Regions from separate parts of the Homo sapiens genome. Here region 2 is linked to region 1. The links are contacts of gene promoters, found by promoter capture Hi-C in human tissues and cell types (Jung and others, 2019). All regions are on one chromosome and are shown on one strand. Each heading gives the region's core, a stretch centred on a gene start or on the middle of the fragment in contact. The rest is flanking DNA. Distances are from core to core; before and after follow the strand shown.

Region 1 (2,860 bases), core at 240-2,739:
ACATTAAAACATTTATTTCTTTTAGAACAAAACTCAAATACATGATGAAAGCAAGCTAAAAGCAGTGCATTTAACAAACCACAATATAATGTGATATATTTATAGAATTATTACTAAAATCAGAAAATCAATGTCTTAGTGATTAAGTCTAGGATAATCAAACTTATTGAATAGTTGCAGTAGTTACTTAATGAGATAGTTTTGATTAATCTTTTGTCCAAATAACAATATTGTGATTACAGGCTTAGCACTACAGGTAGTGTAACCATCAGTGAGTGAGATTAGTACATTTTACATAGTTTTGCTATTTTCTCAGTTTATTTTGGAGTCCAGTAATAACCAGTCAGTCTGTACCTGCCATAGGGCAATCTTTGGTTGATATGAGTTCCTTTCCTGATTTTAAAATAAGTGCAATCTTTAACCTAATAAAATTATCTTAAAGTTTACAATTGATGGTTTAAACACATTATAATTGCTCCGTATTTTGCAGATAGAAGAGGCTTAATCCATGTTTGTAGATCTATTTCCTAAAATAAAAATTAGTAAAAAAAAGTTTTTTTTCTTCAGGTTTAACATTCATTTTGTACCGGGAAGAGAAATGGAATAAGAGGCTCGGATTTTTAAGACTATGCAATCAGATACAAGTGCCATTTTGGCCAAAGAATGAGTAAAACATTCTAGTCCCGACACGTTTAATAATGGGCATACATCCTATTTCTTTGTTTCATAATCATTGAGCTCTCTGCCTTCTCTCTCTTTTTTGGTATGGTAACAAATTCGACAAAATCAATGCCATCTAGTTAAACTTTTTGATTAAGTAGTGGATCCGGTGTCCTATCCACGAAGAGGTGGGAAAAGCGATGTGGAGAAGCAGGCACGAACCCATCTGGAATGGAACATGTCCCTTCCGAATAATTTCATGTGGGAAAATAATTTCAAGTTGAAGGATAATTACTGCAGAGACTGCCAGTCACCCCCGGCCGCCGCCGGCCGCGCAGCGTCGGAAACCCTTCGCGGCAGCCAGGAGGGTCGCAGCCCTCCCGGAGCCCCGCTTCCTGCCCCGGGGCGGCGCACCCGGCTCCGGGAAGGTGCCGCGCGGGAGACGTGGCAGCAGCCCCTCCAGTCCGCGCCCGGGCGCAGCGGCCGAGCGCTCCGTGCAGCCGGGCAAGGAAGACTCCGCGGCAGCAGCGCACCGGCCGGCGGGGAGACCCGCCTGAAGCGCCGGCGCCCGCCAGGGGACGGGAAGTGGCGCCCGGCCCGCCCTTGCGGCCCGCGGCCCGCGGCCCAGCAGCTCCGCGCCGCCCCTTTTCTCTCGGCCTCTCCCTCGGCCTCCGCCACCCCGGCCGAATTCTTGCATAAATTATGCCAGGCGCGCCTGACGTCAGGTGGCGGCGCGCGGGCGCGGGCGCGGGCGCGGCGCGGCCCGGAGGGAGCTGGCGGCGGGCGCGCGCGGCCCCGCGGCTTCGGGTGCGCGCGGCGTGCCGGACGCGCGCAGGCGCTGGCGTGCTGGGGCCGCGGCGGCGGCGGCGGCGGCGGCGGCAGCGGCGGCGGCGGCGGCGGCGCGGGGGTTGAGTCGTGGTGGTGCGGACGCGCTCGTGCTCGGGAACTATCGGATTAAACTTGAATCGAGTGAAATTACACAAAGGAGCGCCGCGGAGGAGGCGGCCCGGGGACCCGGACACCCTGAAACTCACCAGAGACCCGTTCGCCCCCGGCCAACTCCGTGCCCGTGGATTCAGCCCCCTGGCCGCAGCTGCCGAGCCAACTCCGGAGCCCGCTCTGCGTTTTGTTTTCCCCTCGGCACTAGGCAGCGGAGGAGCCCGACCGACCCGGTGAGCGCGAGAGTTCGCCCGGCGCCCCCGGGAGGGGCGGCGGCGGCGGCGGCGGCAGGAAATCGCTCCGGGCCGGGGCCGGGGCCGCGCTAGGAGTTGGGAGCGAGGAGTTGGGCGTGTGCGGGGCGAGGGGCGAGGGGCGAGGGCGGGAGGGGGCCGGGGCCAGCGCAGGAGCGCAGCGCCGCCCGCGTAGTGTCGCCGGCGTCGCCGCCCGCGGGGCCCGAACCCGCGCCCCGAGCGCCGCCCGGCGCCCCAACTTTTGCCTGCGTCCGCCGGGCCGGCGGCGGCGGGGGCGCGCGGTGCGGCCGAGGGTCACTTCCTCGCATGTAAATGGCTTTTTGTTGTGCTGCCGGCGTGGGGGGGGGGTACGGGGGACAGGAGGGAGCGTGTCTGCGCGCGGGGGAGCGCGAGCGCGTTTCCTCCCGCCGGCGCCGAGCACGAGTTGCCGGCTCCATTCGAGAGAAAAAGGAAGGAGGAAAAGTTGGGCTCCAACTCAAGTGCGAGCGGGCGATGGGCGCGCGGGCGCGGGGCGGCTGAGCAGCGGCGGCGGCGGCTCGGGGACGGCGGCGACCCCCGCCTCCCGCCCCCGCCCCCCGCTCCGGACCGACCACGCCGCGCTCGCCGGGAGCTGCGGCCGCACCGGCGCGAACAAAGTGCGTTCCTCCCGGCGCGGCGGCGCCAGCCCGCGCGGGGACCGCCACCGAGCGAGGTGGGTCGGCGGCGGGGAAAGTGCGCGGGGCGCCGCGTGGGGCGGGGGCAGCGCGAACACGCGGCGCGGGAGGCGTCCCGAGCTCAGCCAGTGCCGGTCGCGGGCGCGGAGTTGCGAGCCCGGAGTTGGGGGCTCCTGGGGCTCCCCGGCGGCTCCCAAGTGCGCTAGGAGGAGAAGAAAGGGAGCGGGGCCGGGGCGAGCGCCGGGAGGCGCGGCGAGGAGGGGACCCCACCTTGTCGAGCTGGCCGGGCCGCCGGCGGCGGCAGCTGCATAATAGCGACTTTAACCTTCCAACGCAACTCGGCTCCCCCGCCCCCCA
Region 2 (2,860 bases), core at 105-2,604, 270 kb before region 1:
CCACCGCCCACGGAGGCTCTCTGCACAGGTGACCCTGTGTCCCTGCTGGGGCGCCAGACTGCATCCTTGGCAAAGCACAGAGCCACTGGGCCAGTCATCCTAGGAGTACATCAGCCTTTGGGGACTTAGTCATGGGGAAAACGGTCTCTGCATTCATGGTACTGTAATTTCAACTCTTAAATATATTCATTTGTTTTTAAATTGACTTTTAAATGCAGTATCATATATTTACTGAAAAGTGCACAAATGCTCAATGAGCACCTCACTGAATTTATACAACATGAATACACCCATGGAATCAATAACCAGGCAAGAAATCAAGCACTGCCAACACCCAAGGAGGCCCCCATCAGCCTCTTCCCCATCTCTAATATGATGATAAAACCTGACTATAAACATTAACAAAGGAATGGGATGTAAATAGACTCTGGAACTCTAGAAGAGATTAGAAAATCTTATTTGAAACTATCTTCTGAAATTGAGATTCCTGGGAACACTGGCAGACGTTGCTATCATTAGAATTCTCACCCAGCTAGCAGAATAAAGGGTGTAGTTACCCTGAAAAATTCCACAGGCACTATCTCCAGAGATGGCTGTATAGCACCTGTGCCCTTTCTTCCGATAGGCAGATACTCCCAGTAGAGGAAACACACGTGACACGTGTTCCCACCCAAGGACACCATGAGAAGCTCTGCAGAGCAGGTCAGTGCTGACTCCACCCTGGGCCTCTGAGTCAGATGTCAGGCCTGGCCATGTAAATTTCAAAAACTTCCCAAAGAGATTCTGAAGTGCATCCCTGGGTGAGAACAACTCTCTCAAAGTGTTATTCATTTTGTTATTTCATTACACACTTTCCAAGCCCATTCCCTCTGACAACAAAAGAATGAAACCCAGCAAAGGTGCAGGAAGGGGGTCAGGTGAGTTTCTTCTCCCCCCTTCCTTACTTCATCTGGGCTGATTTTGCCTAATCAAAATCGCTCCAATCACCCACAGAACTGGTCAAAATCCCAACCTCCAGAGATCAGCTCCTTTTTGTATGTAACTCCAGGCCTTTGCCTGCATCTAAAATGCTCTCTTCCTCTTCTCCACATAGCAAACTCCTACATGTTCTGCAAAATCCAGGCTAATTGTCTCCACTTTGTGTTTCCTGACTTAGTCCTTCTGTGCGCCCTAATATCCCATTAAAGGCCTCTTTACAGTTATCAATGGCTTTTTTTTTTTTTTTTTTTTTTTGAGACGGAGTCTCACTCTGTCACCCAGGCTGGAGTGCAGTGGCGCGATCTCGGCTCACTGCAACCTCCTCAGCCTCCCGAGTAGCTGGAATTACAGGCTGGTGCCACCACGCCTGGCTAATTTTTGTATTTTTAGTGGAGACAGGGTTTCACCATGTTGGTCAGGCTGGTCTCAAACACCTGACCTCGTGATCCACCTGTCTTGGCCTCCCAAAGTGGTGGGATTACAGGCATGAGCCACTGCGCCCAGCCATCAATGGCCTCTTCACAATTCTTGGCATATCACATTGTAATGACCTTTTGTGCTGCCTGTACCACCAAATAGACTGAGATTTTCCTCTTTCCACCTCTGCATTCTCATGGCCTAGAATGAACCCTGGAATATGCTAAATAAATAAATGATGGATGTATGCATGGATGGATGGATACTTAGAAGTGCTTTGTAAAGTGCAAACCATTCCATTTCCATCCACTCTATAACTCTCACACATAAACGGATATCTGGAACTCAAACATCCCTTTTTCCCTAGACTCCATCCTTCTCACCCTCCAAGTAGAGACCCAATTCTTTTTCATTTCAACAGGAACTAGAAACTCTACACCTTCACTATGTATTATAATTGTCAGCAAAATTTTATCTTTCTTTTCAGCATCATTATTCTCTGAGACTTACTTCCAAAGTCTAGCATTACCATGGGCCTTTTGCCTCTCTCTTTTACCCTAAAAAGCAAACATGGAGCAAATAGGCCTCTTGGGTTGGGGGTTGGAGGGGGTGGGGTTCCACCCAGGGAACAATGGCATCAAGGCCAACCCAAGCATGCATTGTGGCTCAGCAGGTGGTTCAGTGGCTACTGCGTGTATATACACAGCAGTGGATTTCTTGGGAAGACTAAGCTACAGCCAGCCCCTTAGGTGACAGTGAGCTGAGAGTTCTACACATAGAGCTGCCCCACAGTGGCTGGTGGTTTCCTTTATGGAGGAAATGTTTTGGAATCCCAGTCCTAGCATGTGATGGTTTTCCTACATTCCAAGAGCAGCCATGTGGCAGAGGCATGCTCAGAATAAGGCATTTGAGCAAAAATGGAGTAAAAACTGTAAAGTTAGAGGGAGAGGGAATTGAACAGCTGGAGATACGGGATATTAACTAAGATGTGTCTTAAAGTGATATGAATGAGGGTGTTCCTTACCATGGGAAACCAGTGTGGGAAGGTTTAAACAGCCATGGTGGCTCACACCTGTAATCCCAGCACTTTGGGAGGCCGAGGCAGGTGGATCACTTGAGGTCAGGAGCTCAAGAGCAGCATGGCCAACATGGCAAAACCCTGTCTCTACTAAAAACAAAAAATTAGCTGGGCATGCTGGTGGGTGCCTGTAATCACAGCTTCTTGGGAGGCTGAGGCAGGAGAATCACTTGAACCCAGGAGGAGGAGGGTGCAGTGAACCAAAATCGTGCCACTGCACTCCAGCCCAGGCGACAGAGACTCTGTCTCAAAAAATAAATAAATAAAATAAAACAAACAAAAAAGAAAGCATGTAAATAGCATCATTAACAATATGTCAGAATTTCACATTAGAATAATGCCAGAGCTTGACAAAATATTAGAGACCACATACATCAAACCCATAAT

The links. Contacts are between HindIII fragments. The study calls those that stand out against the background at their distance.
Region 2: a contact is called between a fragment that was not itself captured here and the fragment with the promoter of CHD7 in region 1, in 1 of the 25 tissues and cell types used here (dorsolateral prefrontal cortex).

What each region holds. Positions count from the first base shown.
Region 1 is chr8:60,677,251-60,680,110 of GRCh38, forward strand. CHD7 (chromodomain helicase DNA binding protein 7) reads left to right here and starts at 1,490. Exons shown (of 38, transcript NM_017780.4): 1 at 1,490-1,832. RefSeq lists silencers at 1,038-1,477, 1,838-1,937, 2,598-2,860. The HindIII fragment of the contact is 11,242 bases long and covers 1-2,860 here.
Region 2 is chr8:60,405,368-60,408,227 of GRCh38, forward strand. All of the region lies in intron 2 of LINC01301 (long intergenic non-protein coding RNA 1301), which reads right to left. Among named protein-coding and RNA genes, the nearest start is that of LINC01301, 7.0 kb to the right of the region's middle. The HindIII fragment of the contact is 9,187 bases long and covers 1-2,860 here.